Linked DNA regions of Homo sapiens: all the other regions are linked to region 2. Evidence: promoter capture Hi-C in human tissues and cell types (Jung and others, 2019). All regions are on one chromosome and are shown on one strand. The core of a region is centred on a gene start or on the middle of the fragment in contact, and the rest is flanking DNA. Distances in the headings are between cores, read along the strand shown.

Region 1 (7,305 bases), core at 2,019-4,518, 45 kb after region 2:
CTTGTTGGCCATTTGCATGTCTTCTTTAGAGAAATGTTTATTCAAGTATTTTACCCACTTTTTAATTGGGTTATTAGGATTTTTTGCTATTGAGTTTTAGGAATTTCTTATATATCTGCATATCAGATATATGGCTTGAAAATATTTTCTCCCCTTCTGTAGGTTGGCTTTTTATTCTAGGAATAAACTTAACTAAGGATGAAAGACTTATACAATGAAAACTACAAAACATTAATGAAGGAAAAAAGACACAACTAAATAGAAAGACATTACTTACTCATGGAATGCAAGGCATAATATTGTTACAATGTCCATACTACCCAAAGTGATCTACAGATTCAATTCAATCCCTATCAATATCCCAATCACAGTTTTTACACAAGTAGAAAAAAGCAAACCTAAAATTTATATGAAAAAAACCCAAATAGCCAAAACATATTGAAAAAGAAGAACAAATCTAGAGGCATCATTTTTTTTTCTGATTTCAAAATATATTACAAAGCTGCAGTAATCAAAACACTACAGTACTGACATGAAGACATAGACATATAGACCAATGGAACCGAATAGAGAGACCAGAAATAGACCACATATATATATAGTCAACCACTTTTCTACAGAGCTACCAAGAGTACACATAGGGAAAAGATAGTTTCACCAATACATAGTTTTGGGAAAACTGGATATCAACATACAAAAGAATAAATTGGGACTTTTATCTCACACAATATACAAAAATGAACTCAATGTAAATTAGACTTGAACATACAACCTGAAACTGTAAAACTCATAGAAGAAAACATTGGTGAAAACTTCATGACACTGGTCTTGACTATGATTTCATGGACATGACACTAAAAGCATAGGCAACAAAAGCAAAAATAAACAAATGGGACCACATCAAACTAAAAAGCTTCTGCACAGTGAAGGAAACAATGAGCACAGTGAAGAAGCAACCTACAGAATGGGAAAATATCTGCAAACCATTCATCAGATAAGGGATTCATAAATAAGATATATGAAGAATTCCTACACTTAATAGCAACAACAGAACAAACAAACAAAACCCAAGTAACTTTATTTGAAAGAATGGGTGAGAGACTGGAATAAACATTTTTCCCAAAAATATATTACATTTTATATTGTCTTCCTTGACAATTACTTTTTCACTGTGAAAACCACTCAATGATGTCACAGATGGATTTCACAAACATGGAAGTTCAGACTTCATGAAAGATTTGGCCAAAGACAAAAAATAGCTCTGATTTCCAAATACAAATCATTTCAATGGGCAAAAAAACAAAGTGCCTGGTATGATAAAATGCATTCTCTCAACCTTCTTTGAGTGTGTTCCAGCACAAATGTCTATCTGCAGTATTCATAGCAAATTCTAGCCAACCTCTGCATTTCCTTATTAGCTTGAAACTAAATGGCAGGAAACACCCAGGGGCACTAGTAACACTAGAATCTTGTGCCAATTTAAAACTGGATAGACAGTACTGTGGAGCTAGTTTCTTAATACTTTGAAAAATTCCATTGAAATGAGAGATAACAAACTTGAAAGGAAAGTACTTTTTGCATCAATAAATAAAACATCAAAGTGATTATTGAGCCAAAGATCCAAAGAAGTCATGTGCAGTTTTCAGTATAATGAAGCACTGAATATGAATTCATAGGATCAGCCTAGTTTAAAAAAATAGCAATACTTTCTATTTCTCGAACAACCTTTCTCCTGGGGAATGATGGAGGCACTAATATCACCATACTGTGCCCAGTTTAACACTTGTGCTTTGTTTCTGATCATTTTCCCAAATAACAGAGCACCAATAAGTTAACTTCAGTTTCAAATCACTTGACAAACACCAGGATGTCAGAGGAAATTGTGGTGATAAAAATAATTAAAAAGCAATACGAATTCTGCAAGCCCAAAGTTCTTGTGACAATACATAAACAGAAGAAGATAATATGAAGTCTTTTTCTTATAATGATTAAAGACGGCCAGCAAGTCAAAGCTATTGCCCTGGGGCCTGCTTTCTCCCTTTGCTGTTTTCTCTGAGTGGGTTGGGCAGGGTTGCCATCCACTTCCTCCAGGTCCCTCTGTGGATGCCTGGGCTCTTCGGTGCTCTGCTTTTGGCTTTCTTAGATGTGAAGTGGAAAGAGTATGGGCTTTGGAGCCAAACAGGCCCGTGTTTGAATTCCTGCTCATATACTGTGCACTTGCCCATTTTGTAAGTCATTCAGCTTCTCTGTGCTTAGCTTCCTCACTTATATACTGGGATTCTTAACCCAGTAGAGGAGAAGCTGGACTTGCATTGACCAACTTTCTGGGTTAATGGCACTCCCATTGCTGCAGAAAAGTATGCTGGCTGCTGTGCATGGCCTGATACAGCGACTTGTTCCCCACACTGCAGACCCTGGACCAGCAGCATTGCAGCAACTGGGAGTTAGTTAAAATTGCACAAATTCAGGTTCATTCCAGACCTGCTGAACCAGAATCTGCATTTCATTAAGCTCTCTAGGGGATTCCTGTGCAAAAGAAAGATGGAGAGGCAGGACTTGACTCTAGCACGCCCAGGTACTCCTACTGCCACAAGCTAAGTTGTATGCCCCTTCATAGTAAGTTTTAATTCCCAAGCTTCTGTATGCTTGCTGTTCTTTTTGTTATAATTGTACAATAATTTTAAAAGTTAATTTTTTGATGAAAACAAAAAATAAATAAATAAAATAATGATTTATTTATTTTGTAAAGAAAGTTGTTGTCTCCGTGAAACCCAAGGTGAATGTGATGGAAAGACGATATGCAAAGTGACTTAAAATATTGCTGTTGAGTAAGGTATAAATAAGACAACTGTTAGTTACTGACTGAGGTGGAGGGATGTAAAAATATAGAAGGAATCTGAATTCTAATGATTTCACACATGTCTCTAAGTTATTAGTATTACAAGCTACCTGCATGCATTACAAGTGAGATGTATGCAGGAAGTTGGTGCAACTATGGGCCAAGATATGTTCCTGGTCTGTTATGAAAAGACTGATGCATAAATGTATGTTTACATGTTTTTGACTAAAATAAAATATTCAACGTATATTGAAACTGTTTGTTTATGGTATTCTCAATTCAACTCACTCTTTGTCTTAGCAGACCAACTATTATCCCTGTGGCATGCTGGTGGACCTACCCACAGAGTTGATATAGAGATTAGAAGTGAGTGTGCGTGGTACAGGGTAGATGCCTAAGAAGTAGGAGTTCTGAGAGGGTGACGTTATGCAACTTCTCATGGTGCATCTTGTGGTTTTGACGCCTTCCTCTTCACCACGAGTCATTTTACTTTAGGAACTATTACATACGTGACATTGAAAGAGGCACTGTGAGAACTATGGAGATTTATAAGTACTGACTCCTCTCCCAAGAGGCTGCAATTGAATAGTGATGATAAGGTAACAGAAATAATAATCATTTAAGGCAATGAGTTATTTGTTTTTCTGAAAGTTAATCACTTTCGGAAAAATTTAACGTATAGTTGATGTAGACAAAGACAATGTTTATAAATAACCATTTGAGTAATAACTTTTTACTGTGTTAAAATCATATGAAATTCAGCATTTTAACCATATTAAAGTATAGAATCAGTGTACATTTATAACTTTATGCAACCTTTGCCACTATTTAGCTCCAGAACGTTGTCATCACTCCAAAAGGAATGCTGTACCCTTTAAGCAGTCACTCCCATTGCCACTTTCCAGCCCTGGGCAACCACTAATCTGCTTTCGGTCTCTATGATTTGCCTATTCCAGATATTTTATTTTAATGGAATCGGACATTACATTGCTTTTTCTCTCTGGCTTCTTCACTTGGCATAATGTTTCTAGGTTCATCCATGTTATAGATGTATCAGGACTTTTTACTCCTTTTTATGGCTGAATAGTATTCCAGTGTATGGATGACCACATTTCGTTTAGCTCTTCATCAGTTGATGAGCATCTAGGTTGTTTTCATCTTTTGGCTATTGCAAATAGTGCTGCTATGAACATTCATATACCAGTTTTTGTTTGACTCTTGTTTTCAGTTCTTCAGGGTGTATACTTAGGAGTGGAGTTGCTAGGTCATAGGGTTGTTGCATGTTTAACTAACTGAGAAACTACCAAACTGTTTTCCACAGCTTTACCATTTGACATTCTCACCAGCAGCGTATGAGGGTTTTGGCTTCTCTGCATCCTTATCAACATTTGTTAGTCTCAGTTTTTTTTTATTATTATTATTATAGCCATCCTAGTGGTTGTGAAATAGTATCTCATCGTGTCTTTAATTTGCACTTTCCTAATGACTAGTGATATTGACCATCATTTTATGTGCTTATTAGCAATTTGTATATCTTCTTTGGAGAAATATCTATTCAAGTTCTTTGCCTATTTTTGAGTTGGATTGTTGTTTGTTTTTTAGTTGTTGAGTTGTAAGTGTTCTCTATATATTTTGTATCCTAGATCTTTAACAGATATATGATGTGCAAGTATTTTTTCTTATTCTGTGAGCTGTCTTTTCCCCTTTCTTTTTTTTTTAAGAGTTGGGGTCTCACTCTGTCACCCAGGCTGGAGTGCAGTGGTGTGATCATGGCTCACTGCAGCCTGCACCTCCCAGGCTCAAGTGATCCTCCCGCCTCAGTCTCCTCATAGCTGGGACTACAGGTATGTTGCCACCAAGCTCAGCTAATTTTTAAAATTTTTTGTGGAGACGGAGTCTTACTGTGTTACCCAGGCCAGTCTGAGACTCCTGGGCTCAAGTAATCCTCCCACCTCAGCCTCCTGCCTCAGCCTCCCAAGTAGCTGAGACCACAGGGACTTGCCACCATGCCCCGCTTTCTTGATTGTGCAGTTTAATGCACAAAACTTTTTAATTTTGAAGCCCAATTTTTCTGTTTTTTCTTTTGTTGCATGTACTTTTGTTATTATAGGCAAGACACCACTGCCAAATCCAAGATTATGAAGATATACCCCTATCTTTTCTTCTAAAAATGTTACAGTTTTAGCCCTTACATTTAGATCTTTGATACTTTGACGTTATTTTTTGTATACAATGTGAGATCAAGGTCCAACATCCTTTTATATGTGGATATCTAGTTACCTCAGCACTGTTTATTGAAGAAACTATTCTTTTCCCATTGAATGATCTTGGCATGCTTGTTGAAATCAAGTGATAATAAATGTATGGGTTTATTTCTGCAATCTTAATTACATTCCATGATCCATATGTTTCTGATCTAACCTACACCTTTATGGTATATCCTAATGCCAGTAGCACATTGTTTTGATTACTGTAGCTTTGTAGTAAGTTTTGAAATTGGGAAATATGTGTCCTCCAACTTTGTTCTTAAATATTGTTTTGGGTATTTGGGGTCCTGTGCAATTGCTTATGAACTTCACGATTGGCTTTTCTTTTTCTACAACAAAAAAAGAAACTATTGGGATTTTTGAAGGCATTGTATTGAATCTGTAGATCAATTTGAGGAGTATTGTCATCTTAACAATATTAAGTCTTCCACTTTGTAAATGCAGGATACATTCCATTTATTTAGGTCTTCTTTAATTTCTTTCAATATTTTATAGTTTTCAGTATACAAATCTTACACCTTCTTGGTTAAGTTTATTCCAAACTAGTTTATTCTTTTTAATGCTATTGTAAATGGAATTGTTTTCATAATGTCCTTTCAGATTGTTCATTGCTAGTGTACAGACATATACTAGACTTTTGTGTGTCTTCTATCCTGCAATTTGCTGAATTCATGAGCTCTAATAATTTTTATGAGGATTCTTGAGTATTGTCTATATATAAGATTATGTCATCTGTGAATAGTGATAGTTTGATTTATTCCTTTACAATGTAGATGTGTTATATTTCTTTTCTTGCTTAATTGCTCTGAATAGAACATTCAGTAAAATGTTGAATATGTGTCAAAGTAGAAATTATTGTATTGTTCCTGATAATAGGGAAAAAGCATTCAGTTTTTCAGTTGAATATGATGTTAGCTGTGAGGCTTTTCATGAATGCCCTTCACCATCTTGAGGAAGTTTCCTTGTATTCCTGTTTTGCTGACTGCTTTCTTTCTTAAATCATGAAAGACCTCTGGATTTTGTCTGATACCTTTTCTGCATCAATTGAGATGACTATATGGGTTGTTTTCTTTTTCCTTTCTTCAGTTAACGTGGTGTGTTGTATTGATTGACTTTGTTATGTTGAACTACCCTCGCATTTTTGGGATAAATCCCACTTAATCATGATGTGTAATCTGTTTAATATGTTTCTGGATTCAGCTTGATAGAGTTCTGTTGAGGATTTTTCCACCTGTATTTGTAAGGGATTTGTATGTAGTTTCTTTTTCTTGTAACATGTTCACCTGGCTTTGGTATTTGGGTGATGCAGAACTCATAAAATATTTAGAAGTGTTCCCTTCTCTTCTACCTTTTGAAGAATTTGAGAAAGTTTAATTTTAACTCTTCAAATGTTTGGTAGAATTCACCAATGAAGTCATCTGGTACTGGGATTTTCTTGTCTTGTTTTTTTAATTACTGATTCAATTTCTTTACTTGTTTTAGATCTGTTGATATTGTCTGTGTCTCATTGAGTCAGATTTCATAGTTTATTATTTTTAGAATTAATTCATTTTATCTAGATTATCTAATTCATTGGCCTACACTTTTTAATAGTATTGCCTTAAAATCTTTTTTGTTTCTTTAAGGTTGTATTTTTAATTCTAATGCTAGTAATTTGAATCTACTCTCCTTTTATTTTTCAGTTTGTTAATTTTCTTGATCTTTTCAAAGAACTAACTTTTGCTTTTGTTGTTTCACTCTTCCTATTCTATTGTTTTATTTCTTTCCTTCTAATAGCTTTGGATTTAGTTTGTTTTTCTGGTTCCTGAAAGTGTACAGTTTATTGATTTGAGATTTTCTTTCTTTTTTATGTAGCTATTAACATCTACAAATTTCTATATGAGCACTGATTTGCTGCCTTCTGTAAGTTTTGGTATGTTGTGTTTTTGCTGTCATTTGTCTCAGAGTATTTTCTTATTTTCTCTTGAAATTCTTTCTTTGATTCATTGGTTGTTCAAGTTTGTGTTTAATTTCCATGTATATGCGAAATTTCCAGTTTTCCTTTGTTATTGGTTTCTAGTTTCATTCCATTGTAGTCAGAGAATGTACTTTGTATGATTTAGGTCATTTAAAATTTATTGAGATTTGTTTGTGGCCTAATGTATTGTTATCTCGAAGAATATTTCATTTGTACTTGAGAGTGTATATTCTGCTGTTGTT
Region 2 (7,426 bases), core at 740-3,239:
CACTCTCTTAGCCATTTGCTTGTTTCAAATATTCTTTGATGGACTAAAAGGCATCAAATGACTAAAAGACATTGAAAAACTAAACACCACTTCATATGTGTTCTTGGTGACAAGGCTTTTGTTCTGCATAACCAACCAAGTATGCTGTTTACATCGTTTCCAACTGCCCAACATTCGTGAAGAAGTCAAATTCTTGGTTTAAAATGAAAATTTGATTGGCCCTTGGCAAACATTCAAATCTTACAAATCATAGTCTGCTACCCAAGCCTAGCAACTGGGATGAGAGAACGATCAGGTACAAAGTCAGGCTCAGAAAGATGTGGCAGAGCAAGACTAACACAAAATAATGCCTGCGCTCATAGGCATCGTTTTCATGATCTTCTTTTTGCCCACACAGGTATTCTTTCATCTTCAAGATTTGCAAACAGGAGCACATTAATCTTCACAACATCCGTGTGAGCTGAGCAGCTGGTACATCTTATGATCCTCTGTATTAATGATGGAAAGATGATAATGATGGTGATAAAAATTAAGACACATCAAACAGCGTCAGCACTATCACATCAAAACACCCATGGATTTCTCAGGTTAAAAAAAAAAAAAGAAAAGTGGAAACTGTCAAATGTATTCTCATCTATTTTACTATTATACCGTTGCTAAGATCCAACTACTTTTGAAAGTCTAACACATAAGGAGTTGAATTATTGCATTGTTCAAAGGGGCAGAGAATTCTCTTGGGAAATCAGGCATTTATTTTAATCTTTTTTTTAAATGAAAAACACTAACGGTTGCGTCAAGAAATGTTCTCTAGACTCCACTGGGTCTCCTGTCTGCTCTTTATCCTAGTGTGGAGAAGAGGTGACATTAACCTTAGGAGGGGGAAAACTGCTGGAAGAGGGGAAGGGCTCAAGCAGGCCCTTGGCAGAGGAGGGACCTTCCAGGTAAATCAGATGGCCACTGCCTTGTACCCGCATTGGAGAACGAAGGACCCCAGGGGAAACTCTTCCTGCCTTTGGGTCTCAAACGCCCATGTAGTCCCCCCTCCCCCACAAGACCGCGAACACAAATAAAATCAGCTTTGATTGTGGTGATTCAATTTGCTCTGGAAGAGAAGAGGACTCGGCGAAGGGGCCTAAGTGCACGTTCTTAGACTGACAGGGAGCGTTTCTCGGAGATTTCTCCCGTTTCAACAAGTCATTTGCCTAGTGGAAGGGGGAGGAAAAAGTGAACGGGCTCCTGCCTCCTACACCGTGCCCTTCCCAGGTTGGGGCCTATGACAAGGTTCTCCGTGCTCCCCAGAGGAGCCAGGCACTGGGCCGGGGTAGGCGATTTGTAGTGAAGACCTGCACCGCACCCACGAGGGGGCCCAGCACTGACGCATCCTCACCCCCAGCAACCCTCCAGGACTCTCTCTTTGGTCTCCCCTCTCTCCCATGGCTGCGCGCTGGCACACACCCCGGCTCAGCAGGCCGCTTTGCTTGGATCCCACGCCAGGCCTCCAGCCTCGCCGCCCGCACCCCCTTTGAACACCTTTCCCCAGGGGAGTGGGCGGAGGCGGAAGGGTGACCCGCGCATTCTCTTTCCTTGCGGGCGGGGTGCGGGGCCAAAGGCTCCCACCCCCTCCAAGGAGGAAGCGCGCCCGGAATGGGGGACGGGGAGGAGAGAAAGGGGTGCGCAGAGCCAGAGGGAGGCAGAGGGGCCTGGAGGGAGGAGAGGAGGAGGGGAGGATGGAAGGGGTAGGAAGCTGGAAGAGGAGGGGTAGGCGAGAGAGGGGAAGGAGGGAAGCGGGAGGGGAGCGGGGGGAGGAGGGGCGCCCGGAGTGGGAGGAGGGGAGGCGTTGCCCGACGCGCCCTTTCAAGTCTCCGCGCTCCCCCCCGGCGGCGGCTGCCCGGGGGCGGTGGCTCGGCGTCGCCTCCCCCGACCGCCCCCTCCAGGGCCCCTCCTCCGTGCCGCGGCCAGGCTGCCCGGCCGGCGGCGCGCTGGAAATATGAAGAGACGCTGCAGCTGCGGTGGCGGTGGCGGCCACTGCAGCTCAGAGCGGCGCACGCGGCGGCCGGGGCGGGACGCGGGGCCGGGCGCGGAGAAGTCGGGGCGGGCGGCAGAGAGGCCGGGACGCGGACCGGGCCGGGGCGCCCACAGCCGCCCGACGGCGCCCAGAGAGCGCGCGCCCCGCAGCCCCGCGCCTAGCCCGCCGGGCATGGGGCGCGCGGCAGCCGCCTGAAGCCCCGGCCTGGCCCGGCCGCACCCGGCCGGAGGCGGAGGGCAGAGCGCGCGCCCAGTTGCCCGGGCACCAAATCGGAGCGCGGCGTGCGGGAGGCCCCAGAGCAGGACTGGAAATGTCCTGGCCGCGCCGCCTCCTGCTCAGATACCTGTTCCCGGCCCTCCTGCTTCACGGTGAGTTCCCGAGGGCCACTCGAGCGCTCCCAGCCGGCGGAGGCAGCCCGGGCGCCGCGGAGCCCGCGGAGGCGTCGGGTCTGGATCGCGGCACGGCCTACACTGTCCCCTTGGCGGGGCGGGTCCGAGGGGAGCCCCGCGCCTGCCGTCTCAGCCCTGGGAGAGGGGGCTCTGCCCACTTTCCGAGGCTTGGGACCGCTCTCCCCCAGGGCGCCCGGAGCTCTTTGCTGCGGGACTGTTCTTTTTGGAAGGGTGGAAGCTCTCCCACGCAGACACCTTTTATGTCCAGAATCCGTTGCATCCAGTCCGAGGGAAACTTTCGTCCGCTCTGCTGGATTTTCCAACTGTACACTGCCATGAAATCGCCGGCTCTGCGAGCCTTTTTCCAAAATGCCAGAATGCAGCAGGCTCTTGATGTGTTCCAAGCGTTTAGGAGAGTGGAAAGAGAAACTGATCATTTGGGAAAGACACGTCTGTCTGCCTTCTGAAAACTAGTGTTTGTTGTCTGCCTGCACTTTGCCTCGCGATTGAGGCGGGGTTGTGGGGTTTTCTCCCAAGTGGACTGTTGCGTTCTCTGGGTGTAATTTTAAGAAACAGGGGACCCCTATTAGCCAAGATTTAATCATTATTACCAGTCTCCCAATGTGCACCCCAACTTGACGTCCCATTTCCTGGGCTTCCAGTGCCACTTTTCCCCAGGGGTTCTAGTAAACCTTTAGCTAGAGAACATCAGCCCTTTCAGCGGGTTCCAGAAATTGCGCTGAAAACACCAAGACAGAATTTCTTTGGGGTGGACAAGGCAGGTTTTATGGCGCGTCGGGTTCATAATCCTGACAAGCCGTGGCAGATCACGTCGTGTTGATGTGGATGTCCTGAGCAAACTGTCCCTAATGGTCAGACACCTGACGTTTCAACAGCATGACTTCACGGCTCTCCTTCCTCAACACCCACCACAGCCACCCCAAACCTGTAGCGGGCTCCGGCTTCAGAATGCATGGTAGCCAGGACTGAAAGTCAGGCTGAGGACCTTCCCTCCGGAGGATCAAGGAAAGGGAAGAATTGTTAACCCACAAGCCACCGGGATGCTGTTTTCTTTGTAGTCCTGCCCCAGGTGGATGGCTCGCATAGCTCCACAGGCTTTGTGAACTTGTCTGGCTGGGCCAGACCTGTCCAGTTGCCAAGGTGTACTCAGAGCCCCAGTGATCCCAGAATTTTAACAGTCGGGATGGAAGGCTTGCAGAGGGCAAAAAGAGAGAAGGTATAATTATAGGGTTGGACTCCTAGGCCCATCTGCTTAGAATTACAGAGCAGTTTTAATCTTTGGCTGAAACATGAAACAAATCAGAGCCAATGAACAGATCAAACAGCAGCTGCCACACACACAAGAAACAAAAGAGAGAGATGAAACAGGAAACATTGTCCCCCTTAAAAAAATTGTTGTAATATCTGTGAAGAAAAAAGATAGTATGGTCAAATGATTTTAAAATTTAAAAAATTACTTAAAAAGTTGGCATGAACAGCATTTTTTGGGGTAAAATCATTGCCTTTTAAACTACAAAAGTGATCCTCAGAGATGCAACCTTGTACACAAGGTAACTCTGAACATGTTCTCCCTATTTTGAGAGGTAGGGGTTGTAATTATACTTCCTATTTAGCAGTCCAAGCTGGGGTAGTAATGGCTGACAGGTAACAAGAGCCCAAGTATATCCTCAATGAAGACAGGAGCTCCAAATCTCCTGAGTTTGAGAATTTGAGTCTGGAATCTTCCATAACTCCGGGGATCTGAGGGAGGAGGGCTCCCCAGACCCCATGGTGTTGGGAGGGGGATTGGGGAGCAAGGAAATAACTGGGAAGGGCAGTCTGAGCTATAAATGGGAGCACAGTGGAGACAGACCGTGTGCGTGCTGGTATGTGTGTATGCATTTGTGTGTACACATATGTGCATATGTATATATGAAGATAAGATAAAAAGGGAGGTTTGCAAAGTTGAGTTGGGTTACATGGATAAACCGATAAAAAGTTATCCAATTTCAGAAAGAATCTGCAATGGCACAATTATTAAAACTAATGTTGCTCAAAGGTCTACTTAGATCCAGCAGAGAGTATCAGACTCTAGTGCAGAAAATAAACAGAGGAAATCATTGTTCAAGTTATAAATCCTCAGGATTTAAGAAAGGTTTGCCATAATTAGCAAGGATAATGTAAAGCACCAGAAAAGAATGGGATATTCTTCCTTTCCCCTTTCCCCCATGACATCTACTTGATTGAAGTACTTTTAACAGCAAATGGGTATTACTCAACCTAACCAAGGGAATGGTTTGCTGAATATGTCGTACTCAACTGATAGGCGCTTTGCAGGCATTTAAGAATTCTGTAGTAACAGATGGAGTGTGATCATATATTTAAATAGAAGTTATAAATCTGAAGGCAATTCTTGAAATCTTCTAAGGAATTAGTGATTTTTTTTCCTGATAAATAGGCATTTTATTTTGCTAACCATAGGATACCATTTGTCTATTTATGGGTCAACTTAGTAGATAAAAGCATTTGTTCTATGGTGTTGGATGTTCCTGTGATAAACTTTAATAAATTTAGTTTCACACATCATTTAGAGATTTATTTGTTACACCACCAAGTCAGGTTAAGAAGTGCAAGAAGTGCATCCTGTGTGAGGATGCAGTAGATAACCATTATGTTTGGCATCCAGTCTTTGTTCGGTTTTGTGGCTACTTCTATTTCAATTCATTGCAACTTATAAATCACCCCTAAATCCTATCAGTGAGTAAATGAGGCTCTGGCAAGACTTGAGCCTGTTGTTTATTTAAGACTGCAAATGTGGTGCGAGACCCAAGTTCAAAATTTGATGGCATAAAAGTATACATGTCAGTTTTACTTTCCTCCTCTTCAAATTCTGAAAACAATTGCAGTACTTAATCCAAATAAAGCCTATTTAATGTCATGAAGGTATGCAGCTGGAAGATGTCCATTATCACTGTTTTCTTTGCTTAGATAAAAGCCACAAAAGTTTCAGATGTCAAATTCTAGAAACCATTCAGCTCCAAAACACAGATTAGCATGAGGTATCCAGAATAAGTGTGACTGTAATGCCGCAGTGGAGTGCCTGATTCTCTTTGCTAATGGAAACATTTGATTTTGAGTTTTGGAGCTGATGTTGGGAGAGATGTTCTATTCCCACACCCTGTTTACTTTTGTAGAATTCGTTGACTTTTCTGAGAGGTGAAGGCTCTTTCAGCTCTCTCCTTTCATTAAAGCTTATTCTGTCAAGACTTTTAAAAACTTTGCAGATTACCAAATGAGAGTTTAACCGACATAATGTGAGGAAACGTTTATACAGGGTAAAATAGAAATCTTTGAAAAACTATTTTACTAAGGACAGTTTTTGTGACCAAGAAAACATTCTTTCCTGCACTTTTTTCCCTCCTCTTAGTCATAAAAAGAAAATGAAGTCTTGAAAAGAAGCATGACTCACCTGTACCCAACAGGGGCAAGGGTCTCAGACAGATGTTAAATATCCTCTGTTAAAGAGATTGACAAGCCAATTTCATTCTTTTATACTAGCTGAGTTCATTCTTTTTCCCCTTAAATGAGAAAAGAACTAAATATAGGTGGGTGATATGTCTGTGTAATTACATACTACTATTTAGGGACAGACTGATGACAATATAATCAATCAAAGGGAGGCATAAAACATTTCAGACCAGAAATAGAAGATGATGTGTTAGTGATTGTCTACATCGGTTGAAAGATACACAGCAAGGCATGTCTTCAGTAGACTCTTCCCCTGGAGTTGAAGTGATCGCAGGGAAAACCAGGAAAAAATCCGCTACCATCCTGGACGTATGAGTTCTTAATGGGTTGGTTTTGTGTACATAGGCCATTGCTTAGTCCTCTCCAGTTTGGGAATAAAATTATTGTGGAAAGTCATGTGATAGGTATGTACATCTCAAGGTTGGAGAAAGGATATGGTATCATCCTAAAATTATTAAGGATATTCTGTTCTGCAAGGGTTTTCCGGTTTCATTCATTCAGCTAACCATTTATTCAGAAAGTTCATCTATGAGGGCCTACTATGTGCCAAGTGCCACCACTTGCCAGGTCCACTGGCCGAAAGGTAGCATTCTCCCTTCCTTGAGGATTCTTGAAGAATATCTAGGTGAGAGAAGGGAAGAAATACTGATTGTAGAGCCCCAGAGCTGAGTGGATGGCACACTGCAGTTGATTGCACTATTTTCCCTGCTGGGAATCCCACAAGCGTGCACACACACACACACACACACACAGACCACAACTGTGTTGAAGAGGGTGGATGTGGCTAGTCAGCTGCAGATCCAACATGCAAACTTTGCAACCTCTGGTTCAGCTCCAGTGTCCACCCTGAGGACTATGGCACTATAAAGTGGCACAGAAAAGTAACTTGTTTTCAACTAAAGTCAAGTGGAGCCAGGAATTTGAAAACTTGACCTTATTATATTGCTCATAAAGAGAGACGACTTTTAGATATGAAGATTTTAAGATGGGCAAAAGCAGCAAGCTTACTGCAAAAAAAATGGTAATAAAAACAAGAACTTGATAAGCAGAAGTACCACAATGGTGGTAAAATTCAGTACAGTCTGCAATACATACATGCTTTTATTTCAAAAAAATGGAAACCTGTGCTGGAGTTTATCTACCAGCACCCACTTCAAAGCACACATTTACAGTAATGACTGCTTATTTAATTGGGCAGGCAATTTCATGGCTAAGTAATTACTTGCACTTAATCTAATCAGTCACATTTTATGTATCACAACAATTCTAACGAGAACACTTTTCTCAGTCTGATTATTAAAGTATACAGGGCACATTATATAAAGTACAGAAACTTGCAAAATGAACAGAAAAGAATCATTTTAAGCTCTCCATAATGGTTGATATTTTGACATTATACTTAGTCCTTTTCAAGTTCAGGTTTTTTCCCTTAAGCCTTAGAGTACATGTATAGAGATTAACCTGATCAAAGATTAGTTTAGCC
Region 3 (6,557 bases), core at 2,517-5,016, 55 kb before region 2:
GTTTCCTTGCCCTTCTGCCATGTGATGATTTCTCCCGTGTTAAGATGCAGCAAGAAGGCTCTTACCACATGCCAGCCCCTCAATCTTGAACTTTCCAGCATCCAGAACTGTTAGCCAATACATTTCTGTTTATTATATATTACCCAGTCTGCCATATTTTGTTATAGCAACACAAAATGAACCAAGACAGCAAGATAGATCATATACTGGGCCATAAAATAAATCTTAACAAATACAATAGAACTGAAATAATACAGACTGTCTTCTCTGACCACAATGGAATCAAACTAGAAATAAATGACAGAAAAAATAACAGACATACCTTCAAGCACTTAGAGACTAAATAACACATTTCTAAATAATCTATGGGTTAAAGAGGAAGTATCAAGGAAAAAAATTCAAATAATATGTTGAGCTGAAAGAAAATGAAAATACAACATAAGAAAATTTGTGGGACACAGCTGGAGCAATGCTGAGGAGGAAATTTATGGCACTAAATGTTTATGTTAGAAGAGAACAATTCACCGGTAGTTCTGGGAAAATCTTCAAAAACTGAGAACTAGTTACTATTTCAAGCTCGTGCATTTCTAATTCTTTCAAGTTCCACACGTTCAAGAAATATTATTATATCAAATGAACCTGCTCAAACATTTCTTTGCTTGAATTTAGAAAAATTTTTTCTCTTTGTTTTTATCAAAGCTTAACAAGCGGTAGGTTGGTTTTACCAGAATGTTTTGGATCCTAAGCAAACAAAGATGGAAAGAATGACTATGATTTGATGTTCATTTGGGGGTTTGTTTGGACATTTAATGAGTTATCAGCTCAGAGTATCATATCCACAGCTGAACCTTGCCATTGATAAGAATCTGAAAGTGATCAATTCAAGAACTCACCACAGTAACAGAATGAGCATGAATCAAGAGCAAGACATCTTTATTGTAACACCTCTATCCTGTCTGAGGGATGACAGTTTCAAGGATATTCCCAACCTCATAGACCAGAGATTCTCAGTATGGTTGGATATTTTTTTTTCACTTCCCATCTAAACTTGGAAAAAAAGAATGAGAAATCTCAATCAAGATGCTGGTCATAACAAAGTATTAGTCCAGCTAACAGGGCAATAAAGAATATCTGACTTTTGGCCAGGTGCAGTGGCTCACGCCTGTAATCCCAGCACTTTGGGAGGGTGAGGCAGGCGGATCACCTGGTCAGGAGATTGAGACCATCCTGGCTAACAAGGTGAAAGCCCATCTCTACTAAAAATACAAAAATTAGTTGGGCGTGGTGGTGGGCACCTGCAGTCCCAGCTACTCGGGAGGCTGAGGCAGGAGAATGGAATGAACCCTGGAGGCGGAGCTTGCAGTGAGCGGCGATTGAACCACTGCACTGCAGCCTGGGCGACAGAGCGAAACTCCTTCTCAAAAAAAAAAAAAAAAAAAAAAAAATCTGACTTTTGGGTATATTTTGCAGTTGGTTTAGAAATTAGTGTTTATCCACAGCCTCTTATTTTTCAGGAATGCTGTCTAAAATATAGCAGTCTTTCAGTAAATGGATGTGTCATTACTGCTGTGGTTAGTGTTATTATTAAAGATGACTGGCATGTGGAATTAAAACCCCTGGCCATAGAGCGAGGCCAACTGGATGAGGAAAGAGAGGCGGGGAAGGGGAAACTTGCCCAGGATCACACATGAGTTAGGTTCTCAGGATAATGACAAAAATGGGACTAGAATGGTCGCTTCGAGGATGAAATGAAAACAAGCTCAGGAAGACACCTTTCAAGAACTTTAACTTCATACAAATGTAATAAATAAAAGTAAGAAGTTGTTTCAAATAAAAGCCTGATAAATGAAAAACAGATATACAATTGCAGAAATAAGTACAAATATATCCAGTAGTCAAATTAACTATAAAATAATTTAGCTCACGTTAAAAAAAATAGAGGTTAAATTTTAAAATTCAGCTATGTGCTGATTATATGAATGAAAATAAATCAATTTTGAAAATATAATATTGAGTTTTAAGAAATGAAGTGGTTTTTCCTGGATGACACTATTTTTATATAATCTAAAAACACAGAGAGTGGTCCTACGTATAGTTTATGGATACATAACATACAACGTAAAAAAATTAACTAGAAGGACACTCACCAAATTCATGACACTGGTTCTGTAAGGAGGTGAGCAAGTTTGCACTTGGGTGTCAAAGATGGATGCAGCTTTGTCTTCTACATATTCCATTTTAATAAAACTCAGAACAAAAAAATGACTACATGTTAACTTTTTCTGTATTTTATTGTATCTGGGTGTTTGCATATGCTTTTGCTTTAAAAAATCAAATAAAGGAGAAAGATCTTTGGAATGAAAGCAGACAGCACCGATGCATTCACTGCCAGGGGAAAGCAGGTGCAAGGCTCCATGGGAACGATGACCTTAGTAGATTCTCATCTGAAAATGGGCATAACTTTGCACTTTTATTGCTCTGGACATTAATAAAACAGTGTACATGTACAAAAGTGTACTGTGCTTGAATGGGAATTAAACGTATGCAAGAAAAATGCAGGGACAGTGTTCCTGTCTGGCTTAAACTTTGGTACTATGTGTAACACACACTACAATAGGGGTGGTGTGTTTCCTACAACAGGAACTAGTGGCTACTATGGAATTCTGAGAAACTCAGCAAGATTGTATTGGCATCTGAAAAAAGAGCATTATCAATAGTTTTGGGGTTACATGAGGATGGAGTGACATGTTTTCAGTCTGCATTCTATAAGTAACACATGTTTAGGTTACGATATTGACTATGATTGCTAAGCTTTAAGGAATACACTACGATGGCCCAGTCCTGTCCCTGATTTCATTGATTTCCTTTTCTTCTGATAACTTGAGGTTATGGCCTTGAAGAAATTTATAAGGCACAGGAAGAGTGGTATTTGTTTGCCTGGTACAGAGTACCTAACATTAACAAGGGGAAAAAGTTTTTCATTCAATTGTTTAAATTAAATGATTGGGCAAGCCGCTGGATTTCCGTGTTCCTAAGAAAATGCAGTTGGAAAGTCATATGTAAATGAGAACTCACTGAAAACTGCTTCTTGCATCTAAGCCAACATTTCCTGGTTGAATGGCTCTTAAGAATCACATTAAAGCCTATTCATTATTTTAATATTGAAGGCCAACTTCTCACAAACTCATCCACCCAGGGAGTCCTCACCATCAGCTGTGAAAGGCACAGGACTTGGAGCTCTGAGAATTGCTGAGAATTGATGTAATGATCTCTGGCAAAGCACAAGTGTGGAGCCCATCTGTCTCCTTAGGGCGAGAAAGGGTAATAAAGAATGCTAAGTAAAGGAAAACCCTGGGACAGAGAAGTCACTGAGCAGCAGCTCTCTGCAATGTGGGTCTTGACACGGACACACACACACACACACACACACACCTGTCCACACACATCAGGTTGTTCAAATGTGGGTGGTTGTTCAAATGGTCTTGTGTGTCTCTGCTGGCACATTTCTTCTTATGATTTCTTTTTATAAACTTCAACAATAAAATTGACTTCTATGATCTTAGACCCTTAGTAAATGAAACCTGTTCATTTTCACTAGTAGATTTAAATGTCACAAAGCTGGTATTTTACATGAAAAAGGTCAAGCTTATAAAATACTTCTACATGAAATCCCCTGAAACAGAGACCATAGGATTTTCCCCCCTTTTGTCAGAGGCACAACAGACAAATACGTGGGTTCAAAAATATTAAAGGACTGCCTATCCTCCCCCGCTTCCTGTTCATAGAATGAAATCAGAATACTTTTATCGACTTGGGCTATTCAAGAATCATGTAACATAGAAATATTTTTAAAATTATTTAATTCAAAAGCAAGTTATATGTAGGTTTAAAATACAATCATACCCTGTATAATGATGTTTTTGGTCAATAACTGACCACATATATGACAGTGGTCCCATAAGATTATATTGCCATATTTTTACTGTACCTGTTCTACGTTTAGATACACAAATACTTACCATTGTGTTAGAACTGCTTATAGTATCCAATACAGTCACATGCTGCACAGGTTTGTAGCCTAGGAGCAATAGGCCGTATAATATAGCCTGGGTGTGTCGGCTCTACCATCTAGGTTTATGTAAGTACATGCTGTGATGTTTGCACAATGACAAAAATCACCTAATAATGCATTTCTCAAAACGTATCCCCATGGTTACGTGAGGCATGACTGTCTATTAAGAGACACCCATTTCTTTTCTTGGTGACATGCTGTAAATATCTATGAAAATAGGAAATATTGATGAATTTTGGACCTTACTACCTCAAGGAAGAATGACCAGGAAATGAAAATCTTGAGATTTGAAAACCCGTCATTTTTCTAGGCTTCAGTTTGCCTAATTTCTCTCTCATTTTCTCTTCTTTCCTTTTTCTACTAATCTTGTGAATCCATTTTGGGAAGAAGTGGGCCCTAGAGTCACCCTCTCTGCCCTCTAACAGGACCCGGCTTGGGGATGACGGCAGATCCTATCTCCCTTCTCTCCAGTCTCAATTCTAGCAAGCAGCATCTTTCAGCTTATGTTGGGGAGTGAAGCAGGATCTGTGACCTAGGACCGAAGCTGGCGCCTGGCGGGACGACTCAGACACCAGACTTTGGACCACAATACCATCAACTATTAGTGTCTGTCTCTCCAGGATCCCTAGCAACTAATGTTATTTTTAGTGACTGACTCTTTAATATGTACTGCTTGTGAATATGAATTTAAATGTTATGTCCAGGGCACACAGCAGTGCACACAGCACTAGCAGTTGGGGCAATTGAGGTATTAATTTTCTACTCGGTAACTCGCATCGTCATCCACAACCTGCAGAGCAAAGCCCAAACTCTGTACCGCAGCACTCAAGACCCTCTATTAGCTGACTCCATCCTAACTGCCTAGTGCCATGTTCCAGTCACAGGACCTGGGGTCCTGTCATACAGACATGTTCCATTTCCAAATAAGCCATGCAGAGCTCTGCATCTGTGCTGAGCTGCTCCTTCGGCCGAGAAGGTCGTTTCTGTCTTCTGTGGCTGAAACTCATGCTCCCTCAGGGTCCACAGCTGTGTACTAAGTGCTGGTGCTGGCACAGTGATGCACGTCCTTCTCACATCAAACTCGGACAGGGCTAGGGTGTGGCCTCAGAACAGCCCACTTCTCCTTAGCAGCACATTATCTGTCATCTACTTATGAGTTCAAAAGTGGAGATGACAGAAACAAGGAAATAAAAGTGCATCTTCAACATAAGAGGAAGTGCACAGTCTCACTCATAATAAGAAAAATGCTAAGTAAAAATTCCAGCAAGATACAGTTTCTAATCCAGCAGTTTGGCGGAAAGAAGAGAAGTTGGATGAAACAACTATGGTCAGGCTGTCAGAAAAAGGGCATTTTCGTGTAGAATTGGAAGGTTTGTAAATGTGTAAAACCACTGAGGATGACTATCTCGAAATACCTAGTAAATTATAAATACACCCTATCCTTTGACCCAGAAATTCCACTTCTAAGAATATATCCTACATATAGCAGTACACATGGGAAATAATATATGTTCAAAATGATCTAATGAGACCTCATTGTAACTGCAAAAGAATGTAAACGACCCATATCCATTTGTAGGGATTGATTGAATATATCATAGTGCAGTCACACAATGCAACTACAAAAAGAACAAGGCTTCCGTATGGACCGATGAGGAAATCTCTAAGATTTATTGTGATGCTAGCTATGGACAGTGCAGGCAATATTCAAGTGGGGGAAATAGATATCTGTATTTGCTTTTACAAGCACAAAGAAAATCTCTGAGAGGATATACAAGAAACCAATAATTATGGTGACTTGTTAATTGTGTTCTAATTTGGAGATGAAGGAATCTGAGTAGATGGAGAATGTGGTAGGAGGAAGATCTTGATCATAATTTTTTACATTTTCTGATTTGTAACCTTGTTAATGTGTTACCTGGTCAAAATGTTTAGACTATTAAAGTGGACTTGTCATTTCCTGGGCTAACTCCAAGCATTGGGACTAGCTGCTTAAGTTGCTGCGCTGAGAATTCTGAGCCTTCCCCTGGCTCATTGGGAAGTTGTCATGATTAATTATCTGCACGGGGGTGCGGGGGGTGAGTCAGAGGAGAGGAGCGGGGAGGAGAAAGGGGAAGGGGAGGGGAAGGAAGGAGACCTCAGCTTTGCCTTTGTGGTACCGGCTTCTTCTAGGCTGAAACAGCTCTTGGAATAAGTAAGATAAGTTTATTACCATCTGTTTTTCCTTTTATTTTGACAAAAATGACTTATTTCTTGGGACACAATGATATTACTTAATGGTAGTGTTCTGTGATTTGAGAAACAAGTACACCTCAATCCATTCCATTCAAAACGTAATGAAAAGACCCACAGAACTGAAGGAGGAAGGTTGGAATAATTCTGCCACCACTGTGGGGAGCTTCTGTCATGTTGGAAGTCACTGAAACCATTTTTATATCCTTTTATGAAAAATGGAGTCAGCTGTATCTATCTTGCTCTTTCCCCC
Region 4 (7,093 bases), core at 3,676-6,175, 34 kb before region 2:
ACAATTGCTTCAGCTGCTTAGCTTGACACTGAATTTTTTATTACCTTGGTGGCGGTGGGGGGAGATGAAAAGGGAGAATTTCATGAGCTCCAGTGTCCTCTTTTGCATCCTTTGAAATTCAAATCATGTTCAGCAATGAGCAATTCATAGACAGGGTGTAATTGCCGATACAGCATATAAGATGTCCTTTCCTCACCAAAACGCGATCAGTCTACACACTGACCCGAAGACCACGCAGAGGAGCGGCACTCCTGACAGACACAGCCTCAGCCGGGCAGTGTGTTATAACTGTAAAGAGCCTTGTGCCCCAGAGGCCTAATTACATGGCAAAATGCTGTGTTTTCTCACATAGTTCTCAAAGACAACCACCTGCTCATTGTGGGGAGATTTAAGGTCTTAAACACCGAGGAAAGGCATTTCATGAAAAGGTTACCCCCAAAGAGAAATCCAAGGTCAAAGTTAGATGGCTAGATACACACTGGAATTAATATACTCATTAGTTCTTAATACAGGGGATGCCTAGAATTCAAAGGGGGCTGTCTTACACCAGGGGCATCCAATCTTTTGGCTTCCCTGGGCCACATTGGAAGATGAATTGTCTTGGGCCACACATAAAATACACTAACTCTAATGATAGCTGATGAGCTAAAAAAAAAAATTCCAAAAGAATCTCATGTTTTAATGTTTTAAGAAAGTTTACGAATTTGTGTTGGGCTAAATTCAAAGCCCTCCTGGGCCTCATGTAGCCCATGGTCTGCGGGTTGGACAAGCTTCTTTTACATATTCAGAGAAGGAATTTGGACGAATATGTGTGATATTTTTTCCTTTTATGAACATCCGTTGAAGGGAAGAAACAAGATATCCCAGGCTGCCCATGTATCCTCGTGGTGGGTGGGTTGAGAAGGAGCACCTAGGCCCCCAGGGGAGCAGATGTTGCCACTGATTTATTCAGTGTGTTTTCAGCTATATACGAGCTACATCTACATCCGTGTCAACTTCGCACACAAGTATATGAACAGTAAATTAAAAATTACAAGCAGCTTGGAACTGAAACACTCTCAGAGGAAAAGTGAACCATGACAGACAGGCAACAGGAAAGTCCCAAACCGACAAGTAGAATAAGTTTGGTTCAGGCAATGGAGGTGGTCAGTTCCCCTGGTCATTCCAAGGTGCCTTTATACCTTTATCCTTGGCTACTGTGCCCTCCATCCCAAAGGCCCCAAAAAATGAGCCATCGTGCTCTGGGTGGTAAAGCCTGCTTGCTACCTCCCTGCTGACTCAGAGCGTGTACTGGATTCCCAGATCTTCAGCCATGAGCCATGTCACTCCCTGTCTGATTCTTCCTCCCACACAGCAAGGACCTGGGGCGCTGCACCTGAGCTGGGGTGGGTGGAGTCTGCATGCCAAGACTGGGTGTAGTAGCTGGGTAAGGAGTTGCCCCTGGGCTATGATGCTTGGAGACAAGGGAACCCAGCAAGAGAAAACATCTTATGTAGAAACCAAAGTTAAAAACTATGCAGTCCTCCCAAAGAAGAGGTGGGACTAAAGAGACTAAAGAAGACTAAAGAAGACAGGCACAAGGGGGAAATTTAGGTTTGAGGCAACTGGACAGAAGAATGGCAAGGAGAAGAACTTGGAGAAAATCCTTGAGCCATGAGAATACATCCAAGGCCAGCCTTTTGAGTACTGAGTTATGATGTAAATTGCAATTCCTACTGTGAGTCTTGGTTGAGAAAACAGGGCTCTAGTTATGTGCAGCTGTGTGCTGGAAAATTTCTGTGTAAGCAGCTCCACTGAATAGGTTCCAGCTAATAGTGTGTCCACAAGAAGTAACCCAAGTCCCCCCCCAGCACAGCATACCACACAGACCAAGAGGTCAGGAGCTGTTTCTTGGTTGTTGGCTGTGCCACCTCTTGCATCTCAAAGAGCATTTTTCTAGGTTAGGCCTGGCCTGAACAAAATGTGCTTAGCCCCAGACCAGCTATGCCCCATATCCCATTGCTATTTTCCCTCTACACTACTTGACAGAGGTTGCTCCTGTGCCTGGCACTGACTACAGGACCATATCACATGTCCCTGTAAGATTACCTTTTTTTTTACACAGTTACAGGGAAAACAGAGTTTATGGAAAAACTGCAGCTCTATTATCCCTGGCAAATTTACCCTGACTTATTCTTTCAAACTCTTTTTCCACAGGTTTTAAAATTTGCAGAATCTTGGCCAGGTGTGGTGGCTCACGCCTGTAATCCTAGCACTTTGGGAGGCCGAGGCAGGCGGATCACGAGGTCGGGAAATCGAGACCATCCTGGCTAACACGGTGAAACCCCGTCTCTACTAAAAACATAAAAAATTAACTGGGCGTGGTGGCGGGTGCCTGTAGTCCCAGCTACTCGGGAGGCTGAGGCAGGAGAATGGCGTGAACCTGGGAGGCAGAGCTTGCAGTGAGCCAAGATCGGGCCACTGCATTCCAGCCTGGAAGACAGAGCGAGACTCTGTCTCAAAAAAAAAAAAAAAAAATTGCAGAATCTCAGGATGGAAGAAATCCTAAAAGTGTTCTACATAGTGTCCACCTTTTGTAGGTTTTCTAAGTCCCAACCCAGTGCTTTTTTGTAATGTGCAATGAAAGTCCTAAATGCTTTTAACGAGTGAAGAGCTTTTCATTCCAGAAGTACACATAAAGTCTGAAATGTAAACACAATGAGAGAGGTAACATATGATTTAATTTCACTCTAAGATAATAATAATGGCCATGAACAATATATTCTGGAAAAAAATGATAGTGAGGAAGCAGTCTGGGAGGTTGGGAAAAGAAGGCTGAAAGACAGTAAATGATGTGGCAAAAAGAGACCCTGGGTGCCCCAGAAAGGTCCTTGATGGCAAAGAAGGCAGGATCAGGGCTGGAGAAGAGAAGCCTCCTAACCTCTTCCTGGGTCACAAGCCTGTCTGCCTTGCTGAGGCCCCTCTGGGTAACTGTGTTTTGTGTCACCTGGACTGCAGTGTGGGGTACCCAGATTAACTGTGACTTCTGTAAGGGTGTTTCCAGGGGATTAGCATCTGAAGCAGATGGCCCTCCCCAATGTGTGTGGGCCTCATTCAATCCCTTGACAGCCTGAAGGCAGAGGAAGGAAGAACCTGTCCCTTTTCCTTCTTGCCTCACTTCTGGAGCTGAAATGTCTCATCTTTCCAGCCCTCAACTGTTATTTACACCATCAGCTCTCCTGGGTCTCCAGCCTTTGGCTCCTGTTGAATTACCACTGGGTTTCCTCGGCCTCCTGCTTATATACAACAGATTATGGGACTTCTCAGCCTCCATAGTCATAGGAGCCAATTCCTCATTTTATAGACACCATTGGCTCTGTTTCTCTGGAGGACCTTGATTAAGATAGTAGCTTGTTGTGAAAAATATCCTTTTAATTTACTTTATGTTACTTCGGCACACAGAGGTTGCAAGATTTTGTCAACTGAAGAATGATTAGGCTCATACATCTGGAAAGGAGAACTTCATTTCTCATAAAGGGCAGTGTGCTGGTGGCCAGTCTGATAGGCTGGGAATCGTAGCCTCTAGCCAGAAGCCAGAAACAGATACTCAGAGGGAGGGGCAAAGGGTGCAAGAATGTATACGGAATGGTGTGGCCAAGTATACATATTTAACAATCTCTAGGAGGAGTTGTGGATATTTATGGGAGGAGAAACATGCACACGCACAACTGAGCTTCATGCCTTTCCATGGGGACCCAGGTCCAAAAACAGTGGCATTAGCATGACATGAGGGTGGAGACTTTAGCCCTCTGATGTCAAAAGGTGAAGCAAAGGAAAAGAAAAAAAAAAACCCTCTCTGTGGATCCTCTGTAGACTGGCCAAAACCACACTGTGGTCAGTGGTAGTCTTATCAGGAAGGAATGCTGGTCAGTTGTTTTGAAACTGCAAAAGGGATGGGCACTGTCATGCAGTTGGTTGATATCAGGTGTGGAGTAGTCTTTCCAAAGGGCTGGTTTCTGTTCAGCCCCCAGTGAAGAAAAGCTAATGGGGCCAGCAAACGAGGGGGGATAGTGAAACATGTCTGAGTTCCCATCCTATCATGGCCAGAACTCAGTTTTTAGGGGTTCTCTGGGGTCCTCTTGGCCAAGTGGGGGTCTATTCAGTTTGTTGGAGGGCTTAGGATTTCAGTTTTGTTTCTCAGTTCAAAGCTCTGAATTAGGCACTGTGAGGGGTACAGAAATAACTAAAAGGCCATCCCTTAACTTATACAGCTTACGGTCTGTCAGAGAAGACACACTTGCAAATATTAAACTGTAATCTGAAACAGAAATATACTGAAATGAGCCAAGCACTGCAGAAAGTTATAGGAAGGTGTCATTGTACCTAGCCAAAGGGAAGCTGGGGAGGGCTTTGTGAAGGAGGAGACATCCGACCAGGGATTAAAGGGTAAGTAGGATTCTCATGGTCTAAAAAGGGTTAGAAGTCGAGAGCTGCATAATTGCCTAATGGGTTCTTCTTGCCTGCTGCACAGACAAAACCAGTTCACTGAGACTACGGTATTGCAGTGAAGAAAGTTAATTGCTGCCAGGCTAGGCATGTGGAAGGCCTAGTTTTCACTCAAATCCAGTCTCTCTGAAGGCTTGGAGGTTAGGGTTTTTCAAGGAAAGTTTGGCAAGGCAGGGAATGGGGAATGTTGATTGGTTGGGGATGAAATCATAGGGGTGTGGAAAACAGTCCTTGTGGGCTGAGTCAATCTCTGGTAGGAGCCACAGGAACAGTTGAGTCATGAGTTGTTGGTCCAGGTGGAGTCAGCCAATCATCAGAAATGCAAAAGTCTCAAAAAACATCTCAAAAGGCCAATCATAGTATCTACGATAGTGATGTTATCTACAGGAGTAATTGGAGAAGTCACAAACCTTGTGACCTCCTCAACAATAGCTGGTTATTGTTTACGCCTACCTCTTAGCAGAATTTAGGTCCCTGTCATAATCCTAAGCTTGTGGCCTTTCGTTAGTTTTACAAAGGCAGTTTGGTGTTGAGAAGGGGTATTATCATCATTTCTTGAAGCTTAAACTCTAAACTAAATTCCTCCCAAAGTTAGCTTGGCCTACACCCAGGAGTGACTAACAATAGCTTGGAGGTTAGAAGCATGATGGAGTCAACTACATCGAATTTATCTTACTGTCACAGATGGAGTCAACTATGTTGGATTTATCTAACTGTCATAATCTTTGCAGAGTTAGTTTCAGTCCCAATCCCACAGGATTGGGAAAGCCTGCAGGGTGCTTGGGAAATGAGGTGCTGTATTTCTCACCTATTGCCACTGTAATAAGCCATCTGTTTGCTATAGCTAGTTTGATAGCAGATATTGCACTATTTGTTGTCTATTGCAGCTCTCACAGATTACCACCAATTCCCAGGCTATCAGAATGGCCACCACCAATTTCGTGATTTAAAACAATACAAATTTATTATCTTACAGGTCTGGAGATCAGAAGTCCAAAAAATGGGTCTCACTGAGCTACAATCAAGGTGTCAACAGGCTGTGTCCTTTCCTGGAGGCTCTGGGAGAGAATCGGTATCCTTGCTCTTTTCCCACTTCGAGAGGCTGCCACATTCCTTGGCTGGTGGCTCCTTCCTCCATCTTCAAAGCCAGCGACAGATGGTGAATGGAGTCCTTTCACGTGGCTCACTCTGCCCTTGTTCCTGCTGTCACATCCCCCCTTCTCTGTCTGACTTTTCTGTCCCCTTCCTCCACTCTTGTCATTACCTTGGGCCCATCTGAAAATCCTGGATCGTCCCCCTAATTAAAGTCAGTGGACTAGCAACTTTAATTCCATCTGCAACCTTAGTTCCCTTCTGTCATGTAGCCTAACCTCATCACGAGTGTCAGGGATTTGCACGTGGACATCCTCAGGGACCCCATCGTGAGTGGTTGGGGGGATGTGGCCAGAAAGAAGGCAGTGGCAGAATGCCCAAGAACTCTGCAGCTGCGCTGAGGCATCTGAGAGCCAAGGAGGAAACCTTCTTTGTGGTTAAGTAAGAATGAACTAATATCCATCTGGCATTTGGCATTTTACACTGCACTTTTTGTACATTATCTCATTGGATCTTAAAAACAGCTCATTGTGAGATGTGTTAATATTATTCTTATTTTAAGGTGGGGAAACCGAAATCAAACAATGTAGGTGACTTTTTTCAAGATCACCCAGTGAGTGATTCAGGACTTGGCCCAGGCTTTCTGGTCTACACTCACAGCCTTTCCTTCATCCACAGAGGCAAGATCTAGCAATTGAATTAGGTTGCCTGAATACCAACCTTTGTAACCTCCTATTGTTGGCTTATTTTCCTTATGGTTTTGGAAAAGAATCTTTCAAAACAAGTCAATTTTATTACCTAAAAGTTACTTTGCTTTTAAAAACTGTTCCTTGAATTAATCCACATATTGTGTCTTCCTCAGAATGATAAGCATAAAGGTAGTTACATTTCGTTCTCATCCTTACACCGAAACATGGGGAATTAACAACACCCCTTCTCTGCCGTCAAGTGTATGTGCAGGTTAGGGAGCATCTTGAGAGTTTGGTCCCACCAGCTTCCAGAGCCTGCAGTCTGGCTTCCCATGTGGCTTGAGGCTCCCAGTGCAGGCAGCCCTCAGTGTCTAGGTGCTGGGCTTCCGTCTCACAGTCCCTGGCCAGCTTCCCTCAACACATCCCTCTAATGACCCCGGGGCCTCACCCAATCTTTTCTCCTGACATATTGGGAAGTGAGGGGCAGCAAGGCCCTTTGGCCCAGCAAGGGTCCCCTGCAGGGCTCCCCACTTGAAGGGGCCTGTGCTTTGGCCCCATGCACTGACCCACTCCTTGCAGGTGCCCAGAGCAGCTGAGGGACCTGTGCCTGTGGAGTCATGTGGGTCGTGGGTGGGCTCTGGCTCCAGGGGGCAGCCCAGCATGGCCGTCACTCCCACTCACTGCCACCGGAGATCGTTTGGGATCTGGCCATCAGAGTGGTGCTGACAGCCTGGTTAAGGTGACCATGGTCCTTGAGTCTCAGCCTGTGTGCAATTCCACACATGGGCTCCTCCCCTCTGTGTTCTGGCTGTGACGCCCTCTAGCTC

Evidence for each region. The method cuts DNA at HindIII sites, captures the fragments that hold promoters and counts their contacts. A contact is called where the count stands out against the background at its distance.
Region 1: a contact is called between a fragment that was not itself captured here and the fragment with the promoter of APCDD1 in region 2, in 4 of the 25 tissues and cell types used here (aorta, dorsolateral prefrontal cortex, hippocampus and 1 more).
Region 3: a contact is called between a fragment that was not itself captured here and the fragment with the promoter of APCDD1 in region 2, in 2 of the 25 tissues and cell types used here (dorsolateral prefrontal cortex and lymphoblastoid cells).
Region 4: a contact is called between a fragment that was not itself captured here and the fragment with the promoter of APCDD1 in region 2, in 2 of the 25 tissues and cell types used here (bladder and mesenchymal stem cells).

What each region holds. Positions count from the first base shown.
Region 1 is chr18:10,496,177-10,503,481 of GRCh38, forward strand. No RefSeq gene overlaps it. Among named protein-coding and RNA genes, the nearest start is that of NAPG, 26 kb to the right of the region's middle. The HindIII fragment of the contact is 8,195 bases long and covers 1-7,305 here.
Region 2 is chr18:10,452,646-10,460,071 of GRCh38, forward strand. APCDD1 (APC down-regulated 1) reads left to right here and starts at 1,990. Exons shown (of 5, transcript NM_153000.5): 1 at 1,990-2,394. The coding sequence starts at 2,337. The HindIII fragment of the contact is 8,431 bases long and covers 1-6,306 here.
Region 3 is chr18:10,395,573-10,402,129 of GRCh38, forward strand. It overlaps LOC105371989 (a long non-coding RNA gene), which reads left to right. Exons shown (of 3, transcript XR_001753348.1): 3 at 4,498-5,573. Among named protein-coding and RNA genes, the nearest start is that of LINC01254, 16 kb to the right of the region's middle. The HindIII fragment of the contact is 4,022 bases long and covers 1,756-5,777 here.
Region 4 is chr18:10,416,036-10,423,128 of GRCh38, forward strand. It overlaps LOC105371988 (a long non-coding RNA gene), which reads left to right. Exons shown (of 3, transcript XR_935142.4): 2 at 5,462-5,644. Among named protein-coding and RNA genes, the nearest start is that of LINC01254, 5.2 kb to the left of the region's middle. The HindIII fragment of the contact is 4,106 bases long and covers 2,873-6,978 here.